2 separate regions of the Homo sapiens genome follow, and region 1 is linked to region 2. The links are contacts of gene promoters, found by promoter capture Hi-C in human tissues and cell types (Jung and others, 2019). All regions are on one chromosome and are shown on one strand. The core of a region is centred on a gene start or on the middle of the fragment in contact, and the rest is flanking DNA. Distances in the headings are between cores, read along the strand shown.

Region 1 (6,096 bases), core at 1,360-3,859, 610 kb after region 2:
GTCACCCCTGCCACTGGCCCATGAGACACAGACGATGAATCAGGGAGGTAGCTATTAGGCAGGGGGTCTGCGCTCGAGCTGCTCTCAGATACCTCCTCCTGAGGGGCATGAAACAGGGAGGGAAAAAGTTTAGCAGCTGGGTATGGGGCAGGGCAGCCTGCCAGCTCCCACTTGCTAGACAGAGCTCTCAGGCCCAAGGACATGGTCAGTGGAGCCACTCATGCCCTCAGCCCCACGGAGGACCAGTGAGAGAGGCCCTCCAGTCACAGAGTCCCCCAGGAAAAAGTCACAGGGTCCCTGGATCTCATCAGGGAATACACAAAAATAAGAGAAGGGACTCCTAAGCCACAGCCAGGGGGAGCTATTTTCTTTGGGCTTTTGCATAAATCGTTCCCTCTGCCTGAAACTCTTCCCAGCATCACCCTATGGCTAAATCTTACCCAGCCTTCTCACCACCATTTAGCTGGTACCTCTTCTAGGAAGTCAATGCTGGCTTTGAGGCCAAGTCAGGACTTCTTCATCCTCAGTGCTGCAGCTGCCTGTGTCCCCAGCACCACACCACTGTGGGGTTCATTGTGCCTTTTAACAGCCTCCATGCCAGACTGTGCCCTCCACAAGGGCCTGGACCAAACTTGTCTTTTCCTCTGCTGTATTTCCAGGGCCCAGCACACGCTGAGCACATGGTAGGCCCCCATCTCTGCTGAACTAATGAAACCCCAGGACCCCAAAGTGATGACCACTGCTGTGTACTTCTATCACGTGATATACTGAATATGACCATTATCTTGCATATAAGAATGGCTAATACTTACTGAGTGCTTACAATGTGCTGAGCACTGTTTTAATTATTAGCTTTGCATATGTTAATTCATTTCATCCTCACAAAAACTCTATGAGGCAGGTATATTTACCATTCCCACTTTACAGACGAGGAAACAGAGCTAGATGTTGGGTAGCTTGCTCAAGATCACACGGCTAGGAAGTGGCACAGCCAGGAGGAGATGGTTTACAAAATGTTTGCAAGAGGATGTCTGGTGGGAGCTCACAATCAAGCACCCTTGAAAGCAAGTATTTCTGCTTTACTTTAGCCGGGATACTGAGGCTCAAAGAGGTCTCCCAGTAAACTGGAGGCAGGACCCAGTCTTAACCCAGGGCACTTGCGTTTTTTTTTTTTTTTTTGTAGAGATGAGGTCTCGCTATTTGCCCAAGCTGGTCTCCAACTCCTGGGCTCAAGTGATCCTCCCACCTCAGCCTTCCAAAGTGCTGGGATTACAGGCGATGAGCTACCACTCCTGGCCTAGACATCTGCCTCTCAAAGTGTGAGGACTGTGGGTAGTATAGTAGCTAAGACCACAGCCTAGATTTGAATCCTGGCTCTGTCTGCACTCTGTACCTCGGCATCCTTTTCTATAAGATGTGGGAAAAAATGGTATGTGTCTTAGAAGGTATGAAGCTCAAATGAGAAAATCCATTTTAGGGGTTTGGCTTGGTGCCTGGCTCACAGTAAACCAGAAACACCAAGTATTAGCTACAAACAAGCCTTGTTTCCTCTTGGCTGTCAGGCACTGCTGCTCGCGGTCCTTGCCTCCACCCACGCCGTCCAGCCGGGTCCATACCTGAGAACGGCTGCCGCGGTCCGAGCTTTGCCCCACGCCAGAGTCATCGGCCTCTGCCTGCCCCGGGGCGGCCGCGGCGTCGCTGCTGTCGGCGGACACGGCTTCTGAGGTGCCCACACCCAGGCCGCTCTCAGAGGGCTCCTCGGGCCGGCCAGGCCCAGGGGCCGCGTCGCTGCTGCTCTCCACCTCGTTCTCCTCCATCTGATCGGCGGGCTGCCTGACAGCGGGGCGTAGGGTCTGGGAACTTCACTCTGAGAAGAGAGGTGACCGTGGCTGGAACAAGTGGGCCATCTCCCCAGCCCCGGCAACCACGGCCACCCATTTGCACCCCTGCGCCCATTTTGCAGATGCGAAGATTGAGTCTCCGACGGGGCGGAGCTTCCTGGTGTATTGCGAGGGGAGCTCGGGAAAAACTTGACGGAGAAGCTGTGCTTCCCAGGCTAAGGCCCTTCCCGGGAGGGTGGTCAATGGCTGGTAATCTTGACCCTTTCCCTCGCCCCCACGATTCTCGTGGAGCGTTCCGCTCTGTGAGCCCCATCCGGGCCCAGTGGTTCAGCCCTTCGGCCCCCGCGTCCCCCCGGGTTGCAGGGCCGGTGGTACAGCCCGCTGGCCCCCTGGGTCAGTGGTTCGCTCCCCCCCGGTTCCCCTGCGGAGGCGGCTGACAGCGACGGTCTCGGGGCCTGGCGATTTGGGGCTGTCCCCGGCGCTGCCTGTGCTCCAGGCCCGACGCCATCTTGTGGTGGCGCCGGGTTTCCGCTCAGGCAAGTGCGAGAGCGACTAAAGGGCCTGGGACCCCGGGGCCCTGTTCGGACAGCCCCGCCGGCCTGGGACCTCGCCTCCGGGTATCCCCGCAGTGTGACCTCACTCCACGGCAGGGTACGGTGGGGCCGCCTAACTCTACCCGAAGCTCACCCGAGGCTTTCGTAGCCACGTTCCTCTCTGACTCCGGCATCGACGAGGTCGCCATCCTCTTTCCTCCGCTGCGGAGGAACCCATCGGCCTATTGTAGGCCGGAACTACTTCCCCCGCTGGCCCCGGGAAAGACACATTTTCAGTGTTCCGGAAGGTCGCTCCGAGGCCTCAAAACCATAATCGGGTCTCAACAGACTCTGGGACTTTATACGTCGCCCGGTGTTTGGCACTGAGCCCACTATGGTTTGGGGACTACTTTATCTCGGCGGAGTGTTACGTAGGAAGTGGTTGTGACGTCATTCTGGTCCCTTCCCTAGGCCGCAGGGTTGGGCGCGGCGAATGCGCGCCCCGCTCTCTTGGGGCGTGGCTCCCAGTGGGGGGCGTGGCTCCCGGTGGCTTGGCCGCGCCCCTCCTACAACAGCCCGGAAGAGCGTGTGGCCGCGGGCGACTTTGGCTTGGCCAAAGAGGAATTCATGTTGTCAGTCATTTTACCTGACTCATTACTTATTACTTAGCGCGCTGCTGCAACCCAATCGAGCTCTGCCCGTTAGGTTTGATGTGTTTTGTTGGGAAGGGAATGTATAATTATTGTACAGATAGGGAAACTGAGGTCTGGGTATGGGAAGGGCTGGTCCAAAATCACATCCAATAAAGGGACTCAGGAGCTAAGTACGGATGGCAGGAGTCGGGGAAATGGAAAGAAGTTAATGCTTGTCCCTTAGGTTTGTATACATATTTGTTAACATTAATAGAGCTGAGGCCGGGCGCTGTGAGTCACGCCTGTAATTCCAACACTTTGGGACGCCAAGGCAGGAGAATCGCTTGATCCCAGGAGTTCCAAACCAGCCTGGGCAAAAGAGCGAGACCCCATCTCTACAAAAAAAAGAAAAAAAAGAAAAATTAGCCAGGCATGGTGGCGCGTGCCTATAATCCCAGTTGCTCGGGAGGCTGAGGTGGGAGGATCGCTTGAGTCTGGGAGGTTGAGGCTGCAGCGAACCGTGATCACACCACTGCACTTCAGCCTGGGCGACAGAGCGAGACCCTCTTTCAAAAAATAAATAAATACAAGTCAACTACCTATCCTTTAAAAGTGGAGAAAGAAAAAAAATTTTAATTAAAAGTCAGCTGCCCTTAAGGTATGTCCTTCCTCCGGAAATGTCACCTTCTGTTTTAAGACTTTTAGCAGTTTGCAGTGGAAGAGCACAAGAGGGAGTAAGGCGCTCTGGTTTTTGTCCCTAAGTCTCTGTAGTTCCATAGGCTATTTTCCTTAATTGAAAGATACAAATTTTGGGGGAAAAAAATCTCAAAAAAACTCCTAAGCAGGCTGGGCGCGGTGGCTCACGCCTGTAATCTCAGCACTTTGGGAAGCTGAGTCGGGCGGATCACCTGAGGTTGGGAGTTTGAGACCAGCCTGATCAACATGGAGAAACCCCATCTGTACGAAAAATACAAAAGCAGCTGGGCGTGGTGGCGCATGCCGTAATCCCAGCTATTCAGGAGGCTGAGCCAGGACAATAGCTTGAACCCGGGAGGCAGAGGTTGCGGTGAGCCGAGATCACGCCATTGCCTTCCAGCCTGGGGAACAACAGCGGAAACTCTTGTCTCAAACAAACAAACAAAAAGTCCTAAGGAGAAGACCTATTAATAAGGAGAAAAGGTCCGGGCTCGGTGGGTCACACCTGTAATAACCAGCACTTTGGGAGGCTGAGGCCGGTGGATCACTTGAGGTCAGGAGTTCGAGACCAGCCTGGCCAACATGGTGAAACTGTCTCTACTAAAAATACAAAATTTCACTGGGTGTGGTGGCGCGCGCCTGTAGTCCCAGCTACTCGAGAGGCTGAGGCAGGAGAATCGCTTGAAGCCCAGAGGCGGAGGTTGCCGAGATTGTGCCATTGCGACAAGAGAGAAACTCCGCTTCAAAAAATAAATAAATAAATAAAAATAAAAAGGACAAAGGGTGCTTTGAGCTGTTATTTGTGTGCACTTGTGTATGAGGGGATTCATCTGGTCCTTTTCTTAGGTAAAGTTTTCTTTCCTAGGTTTCCCTTTTGGGTTGAGGGAATGGAACAGGAGGCCTCTGGATAGGTTAGGACCCTCATCCCCTATCCCTTGCAACCAGCAGGACCAGGCCCCAGAGCAGCTCTGAAGAGCTAGGTCAGCACTGGCATGATGACATGTTGGTTTTACTATCTCCAGGCAGTTTTCCCGTGTGGACCCCATTCCTCAGCCCTACAGAAGCATCTGCCCCCTCATGCCAGTAGGGTAGTAGGGTGCATCCTACATCTGACCAAGTCACCTCTCCCAAGTTTGGGGTACTCCGAAGTAGCCCCACAGTACCCTCATTCCCTTCCCCACTAAGACTGAAGCCTCCTAGGAGGTAGAGTCTGCAGTGAACTATGAGTGCGCCACTGCACTCTGGCTTTGGTGAGAGAGTGAGACCCTGTCTATTAAAAAGAAAAAAAAAAGACTCAACCTTAATCCTGGCCTTTGCCACAGCATCACAAGATTGCAGAATGTCATGGTACAGATGAAACAGACTCATCATGAAACCGAAGAGGAGCCCAAGGCCCAGAGGGGGAAAGCTAACAGCCCAAGGTCTCGGCTCCTTGGAAACAACATACCAGAACCCTTCCATCACAAAGACAAGCAGGCAAATCCTTGTATTCTGCCTGTGAATCCAGGGTTTGTTCCTCCAGAGAGTGCAGTCTAGTTCTGGTCTCAGCTTTATTTTTTTGTTTTCTCTTTAAAATTTGTTTTATCTTTTAAAAAATTGTTTATAAAGATGGGGACTAGCTATTTTGCCCAGGCTGGTCTCGAACTCCATGGCCCCAGCTTAGAGAGACTTATGGAAGCAGTGAAGGGGCTCTGGGTCAGAGGACATTAAAGTGGACCATTGAGAAAAATGTAGAAGAGCCAAGAGGGAAAGAGGAGGGAAGATGCCAGGCAGTGTGTGTGCTTTCTGAGTCATGTTTTGTTTTTTTTTTTAATTTGCTTCCACAGAGCTTTATTTCCATTTGGATCAAGGCTTGGAAGAAGGCTCCAGGGTAATTAAAAAGCTGCCTAGTGGCTGGAGGGAGAGGCTTAGGCAGAAGCCCTGATACTTTGGGAGGGGCCCTTAAGGCTCCCAGTCGTGCTTGAGGGTGGGTGAGCCTTTCCAAGAGAACCCCACCCAGGCCAGCCTGGGGGCCAGCCACCCTGGGAAGGTTGGTCAAGTGGTCGCCCATCTTGATGAGTTTCACTTCCTCATCTAAGAAGTGACTCTCTAGGAAGTCACAGAGATGGAGGTCTGTGCGGGCAGGACTCAGGGCTTGAAGATCCAAAAGCGGCCTGGTTCAGATTTTTCTCCAGGGCCATGGCGGCTTCCGTGGCATTCAGGGTTTTTAAAATTTATTTATTTATTATTATTTTTTTTTTGTCACCCAGGCTGGAGTGCAGTGGTGTGATCTCAGCTCACTGCAACATCTGCCTCCCAGGTTCAAGCGATCCACCTCAGCCTCCTTAGTAGCTGGGACTACAGGCGTGTGCCACCACACCTGGCTAATTTTTTTTGTATTTTTAGTAGAGATAC
Region 2 (6,172 bases), core at 2,788-5,287:
CCCTCCACCCAAAGGACAGTTTGTCCCAGCTTGTGGCTTTTCGTCACTCTGCCTCTGACCTGAAGTTTAACATTTCATTCATAAGTTTGGAACCACAGACTTGGCAGCGTAGGAAGAACCCTCGTAGACCAGCTAGCTATTCAAATCCAATCCCCTCATATTACAGATGGAAGAAAACCCTGAAGCCGGAATGTGACTCGCCAAGGTCACAGAGCAGTTTTCTGTTGGATGAAGGAGCCGGTTTAGGGTCAACTACAGATCATCTTGTGCTGTAGTTATCAAATGTGGGTGCACCTCTGAATCACTTGGGGAGCTCTCTAAATACACAGATTTCCACACTCTGCTTTGGGAGACTTGAACTGGACTTAGGTTTGCAAACAAGGACTGGAAATTTGAATATCCAGTATGTTCCTCAGGTGATTCAGATGGCACAGGGCCATGACAGCATCTGCAAGTCGGAGTCCAATGTCCCTCTTTCATTTGATAGTTTGGGATACTGGGACCCACCAGGGGACTCGCCCAAGGTCACATAGCAAGCCAGTGGGGCTCTAGTTCAGACTCTGTGGTCTGAAGCAGACTGCTTGTGGTCAAATTTGAAAATGGGCCAATGAAGCTAAACAAAGGGGTTGCCATGATTTTCCCCAGCTCTTGGTTTCCTTCTTGGATCCAAATTAAGACGGAGGATGATGTACATTTCCGAAGCTTGGCAAGGCGGGAATCCAAGAACTGAACTCCCAAAGGGGAAAGGAAAGGGCAGGAGGTTAGCTTGCACGCCCAGTGGGGTTTTCCCAGAGGTGAGCTCCGGACTCCAGGGATGACATCAGACATTCCAGCCAGCCCTAATATCAAAAGCTACCTGTGTTTTCTAGTTCAGCAGAATGGGTAGGCAGGGCCTTTCCTATTGGGAGGAGATGGGGTGGAGTGGGCCCAGCTGTGACGTGAAGGGAGCAGAGCCCAGGAAGAGCCACGCATTCCAGCATCTGCAAGGAAGACAGCTGCCCTGGGTATTGTCAACCTCTGCAGCCCTTTTCTAAGCCTTTCCTCCCATTTCTCCCTAATCCCTCACCCCAGGGCTAACTGAGCAGAGAGATTCACTGCCCCTTTTCCACTTCCTGCTACTCCACCACCTATTTTACTATCTCCCTTCCTTTATTTCCCTCTCCCTCCCTCCCTTCCTCCCTTCTTTCCTGTTCTTTTATTCTAAAATGGCATCTTGGCTGGACACAGCGGCTTATGCCTGTAATCCTAACACTTTGGGAGGCCAAGGTGGGAGGATTGCTTGAGCCCAGGGTTCAGGACCAGCCTGGACAACATAGGGATACCCTGTCTCTACAAAAAAATAAAATTAAATGAAAAATCAAAAAAGCCAAGTGCGGGCCAGGCATGGTGACTCATGCCTATAATCCCAGCACTTTGGGAGGCTGAGGCGGGCAGATCACTTGAGGTCAGGAGTCCAGACCAGCCTGGCCACAATGGTGAAATCCCATCTCTACTAAAAATACAAAAATTAGCTGGGCATGGTGGCACACACCTGTAATCCCAGCTACTCAGGAGGCTGAGGCATGAGAATCGCTCGAACCCGGGAGGCGGAGGTTGCAGTGAGCCAAGATCATGCCACTGCACCCCAGCCTGAGCGACAGAGCAAGACTCCGTTTCAAAAAAAGCCAGGTGTGGTGGCACATGCCTGTGGTCTCAGCTATTCGGGAGGCCGAGGCTTGGGCCTGGGAGTTTGAGGGTGCAGTGAGCCATGATTGCGCCACTGCAAACCAGCATGGGTGACAGATTGAGACCCTGTTTCAAAGAACCAAACTAAACCAAACCAAAACTAAACTAAAAGTCATCTTGATGTTTGGAGTCAGTTGTCCTGAATTTGAATCTCAGCTCTGCTCCCTGTGAGCTCTCTGACCTAGAGAGTCACACCACCTCCCCCCAAGCCTAGTTTCCTCCCCTATAAAAAGGGGACAATAGCTATATTTTCAGATTGTGAGAATTAAACAAGATCATGTAGGCACTTAAGAAACAGATGTTTTCTCAGAAACACTAGATCATGTGCATAATCAGTGAACTAGAGGAATTTGAATACATATTTGTTGGACTGAATTGAGGTGCCTAAAAGAATGGTTGAGCTGGAAAGCACCTAAGAAATCTTTGGGCCTTAATAACTCCCCAACTGGAGTCCAGGGGAACTGTTCAGGGTATTTCCAAATGATAAGGACAATCGCACACTCTCAATAAAGTCTCAAGTTTCTTTACTTTTGTCTGGAATTGTATCAGCTCAAGGTGATAACACGGCTACCACAAGCTGTTCAGAAATTCTGATTGGCAGTTACATGGCTCTTTGATACGTTTTTTTTTTTTTTTTTTTGAGACGGAGTCTCGCTCTGTCGCCCAGGCTGGACTGCAGTGGCGCAATCTCGGCTCACTGCAAGCTTCGCCTCCCAGGTTCACGCCATTCTCCTGTCTCAGCCTCCCGAGTAGCTGGGACTACATGCGCCTGCCACCAGGCCCGGCTAATTTTCTGTATTTTTAATAGAGATGGGGTTTCACCATGTTAGCCAGGATGGTCTTGAACTCCTGACCTTGTGATCTGCCCGCCTCAGCCTCCCAAAGTGCTGGGATTACAGGCATGAGCCACTGTGCCCAGCCTAAGTTTTTTTTTTAATGAGAAAATAATTACTGGAAGGTAGATTAAATGGTGGAAAACGTTAATCATGTCCAACTCCTCATTTCATAAACAGGGAAGCTGAGGTTTAAAGAAGGAAGTGGCTTGCTGGTCACACTGGGTGGCATAGCTGGCCCTAAAACCCAAATTCTTTTCCTGGAACAACTTACTTCCCGTCTTTCCACTTCAGAGAGGGGGAACCTAGGATCAATGAAGTTGATGGGTTTTCGTCTGCTGGAGTAGGAATAAGTGAGTTATCGATTTGCTCTTGCTTTTTCTGTTCTTAACTCATTCAGCAAATATTTACTGACTGTCCACTATTCGGATTTGGAAGATAGATAAAACAGTCATGGCAGCAGAGAGGGTCAGGATTTACTCCTATGTGCGACTTCAGAACCTGTGCCTTTTTCCACTGGACACCCACATTTTAAAACACCCACTACTCTGCCTTCTAATATAGTTCATCTGTGTCTCAGGGCAGGGGCTGTCTTATATATACATGTTCTAGCCTTCCTGCCACCGAGTAGGTGCGAAATCAATGTTGTAGTGTTGAGGAAACACTTGAATTTTATTTATTTATTTATTTATTTATTTATTTATTTAGAGACGGAGTTTTGCTCTTGTTGCCCAGGCTGGAGTGCAATGGCGTGATCTCGGCTCACTGCAACCTCTGCCTCCCGGGTTCAAGCAATTCTCCTGGCTCAGCCTCCCGAGTAGCTAGGACTACAGGCGTGCGCCACCACGCCCCGCTAATTTTGTATTTTTAGCAGAGACGGGGTTTCTCCATGTTGGTCAGGCTGGTCTCGAAACACCGACCTCAGGTAATCCGCCCACCTCAGCCTCCCAAAGTGCTGGGATTACAGGCGTGAGCCACCGCGCCCGACCAACACTTGAATTTTAATACTTACTTTGCTACTAACTGTGTCGTTGAAACAGTATGTTGCTTTCCTTCTCTGGCCCTTAGCTTAACTATCTGTACAGCGGGAACATTGGCAAACTCCTACGTGGAGGAGCTTGCAGGTCCACTTCAAGTTATCAGACTCTAACTAGGAGAAAACATTGAGAATTTAGGCTGAAAATAACGACACAGTTTATCACCTCGTTAATTCCCAAACATCATTACCGCGTCCTAAGCCACCCCACTTGCCTCTCCCCTAGCCGCCTTCCTTTAAAAAAAGAATTCCCCTCTAGAGGGCGCGCAAGCTCTGCGGCCTTCGTTCCTCTCTTCCGTTTGCCTTCACTCTTCCTTCTGCGCATGTGCTCAGTTCGCTATCCGGCTGCTTGTACCTGGTTCAGGAGGTTCAGGCAGAGGTTGCACCCACTACGCCTGCGCAACCTCAGCCCCGCCCCTCCGCTGCTTTCCCCGGAAACGTTTCTTTCCTACGCAGCCGCTCCTGCCGCCGTGGTCGCTGGAGCTTTGCCTCTCTAGGCCGGCAGCGCCTCTCCTCCATGGTCCTGTCTGTCAGCGCTGTTTTGGGAGCCCGCCGGTGAGGCCGGGCCACGCTCAGACACTTCGATCGTCGAGTCTGTCACTGGTGAGTAGACCCCAGAGGAGCTCGTGTACGGGCGGGGGCCGCGCAGGCGGAATGGGCTGGATTTCCCCTCACTCTGAGAATGGGTCTGTCTGCCCCGCCTTCCCCCTGACTCTTGGAATGGGCTCACCCCTTGGTTCCAGTCCCTCCTCCCGGGCGGGGCGACGTTGCCATGGAGACAGGCCGCTGGCTGAGGCCCGGCTCGTGTCCCTGCAGGGCATGGCGGGTCAGTTCCGCAGCTACGTGTGGGACCCGCTGCTGATCCTGTCGCAGATCGTCCTCATGCAGACCGTGTATTACGGCTCGCTGGGCCTGTGGCTGGCGCTGGTGGACGGGCTAGTGCGAAGCAGCCCCTCGCTGGACCAGATGTTCGACGCCGAGGTAGGGTCCCCGGACTGGGGCGGGTGGGGTCTCGGCCTCCCCGAGTAGGCTTTGTGGTCCATCACTACTGTGCTGTAGACGTGGCTGGGTCACCTTCTTTCTTTGTAGCCCTGGGAAAGGGATTTCACCTTTCTGAGCCTCAGCTGCCTCATCCATAAAATGGAATGACAGCAGAGGCTGATTAGTACAAAGAAAAGGGCCTGGATGTTAATACAATAAACACGTCTGTGTTCCAGGCAACTCTGATACATTTCCTTTCTGATACTCTGGGAAAGTGACTTGATTTCTCTGAGCTAGGTTCTCAGGTGCCACATCGGAGAGAGGGGTGGATAAAAGAGCATTCGTGCGGGTACAGTGGAAACTGCCTGGACTTTGGGGTCAGACAGGCGTCCGTTTAAGATCCACTTACTAGCTGTGTGACCTGGGGCAAATGTCACCTCTGTGAACTTGTTTTCCTGTCTTCAAAACCATGAGACTAGTTGCAGAGAGGTCGTGGACTGCAATATAAAGAGCATGTGCTTTGGGTTCAGAAAAGCAAGGGTTCAGTCTAGGCCTAAACATATAAAACTAGCTGTGGGACCTTGGGCAAGTTGCTTCCCCTTTCTGAGCCTTTTCTGAAAAGTGGGCCGGATGCTCCTACCATGTTGCCCTCAACAAAATGTTACAAGGCCCAGAGGGGTTTAGGAATAAGAAGGTACTTTGTAAAGTGTAAAGGAGGCCTATAAGTTGTTACATCTAAGAGGCAGCTGTGGCGTGGTGATGAGCACAGTTCTTTTTTTTTTTTTTTTTTTTTTTTGAGACGGAGTCTCCCTCTGTCGCCCAGGCTGGAGTGCAGTGGCAGGATCTCGGCTCACTGCAAGCTCCGCCTCCCGGGTTCACGCCATTCTCCTGCCTCAGCCTCCCAAGTAGCTGGGACTACAGGCGCCCGCCACTACGCCCGGCTAATTTTTTGTATTTTTAGTAGAGACGGGGTTTCACCGTTTTAGCCGGGATGGTCTCGATCTCCTGACCTCGTGATCCGCCTGCCTCGGCCTCCCAAAGTGCTGGGATTACAGGCGTGAGCCACCGCGCCCGGCCGAGCACAGTTCTTAAAGCCAGGAGACCTGGGATGGAGTCCTTGCTCCTGCTGCTTGTTCTCTGTGTTAGCCCTTGGGCAAGTTATTATCCAAAAAGTGATAAGAATTAAAAGAAGAAGAATGGCTTTGTGAGGTTTTTTTAGGGATAATATGAGATTATGTATGTCAAAGACCTTTCTTTGTCAGCTGAAAGTGTGGTGCAGATGTTTGGCATTTGATAGTATTGTGTTGGATAGTGGAGGTTGCACACCCACCATATGCCTAGTTGTAGTCTCGTAGGAGACTCTATGCTCCTGGGAAGAGCTGTGGGAATGCCAGGCTTTGTTGAAGAGCCATATGATGCACACAACCTGAGTTCTAGCCTAGGGATCAGCAAACCTTTCCTTTAAGGGTGAAGTAGTAAGGATTTTAGGTCACAATTATTCAGCTCTGCCATTGTAGCACAGAAGGCTGCTATAGACAAATATATAAGTGAATAGGTGTGGCTGTGTTTCAATAAAACCTTATGTACAGGAGCAGAT

What was found. The method cuts DNA at HindIII sites, captures the fragments that hold promoters and counts their contacts. A contact is called where the count stands out against the background at its distance.
Region 1: the fragment with the promoter of ZNF335 here is called in contact with the fragment with the promoter of SYS1 in region 2 in 1 of the 25 tissues and cell types used here (lymphoblastoid cells).

The regions. Positions count from the first base shown.
Region 1 is chr20:45,969,594-45,975,689 of GRCh38, forward strand. ZNF335 (zinc finger protein 335) reads right to left here and starts at 2,610. Exons shown (of 28, transcript NM_022095.4): 1 at 2,529-2,610; 2 at 1,617-1,867; 3 at 1-98. The coding sequence starts at 1,817. It also overlaps the pseudogene FTLP1. RefSeq lists a silencer at 2,122-2,241 and enhancers at 3,012-3,231, 5,690-6,096. The HindIII fragment of the contact is 24,986 bases long and covers 1-6,096 here.
Region 2 is chr20:45,359,119-45,365,290 of GRCh38, forward strand. It overlaps SYS1 (SYS1 golgi trafficking protein), which reads left to right and starts at 4,038. Exons shown (of 4, transcript NM_033542.4): 1 at 4,038-4,197; 2 at 4,411-4,575. The coding sequence starts at 4,414. It overlaps SYS1-DBNDD2 (SYS1-DBNDD2 readthrough (NMD candidate)), which reads left to right and starts at 4,051. Exons shown (of 6, transcript NR_003189.2): 1 at 4,051-4,197; 2 at 4,411-4,575. It overlaps LOC124904914 (a long non-coding RNA gene), which reads right to left and starts at 4,250. Exons shown (of 2, transcript XR_007067609.1): 1 at 3,950-4,250; 2 at 3,238-3,708. RefSeq lists an enhancer at 3,768-4,207. The HindIII fragment of the contact is 13,954 bases long and covers 1,566-6,172 here.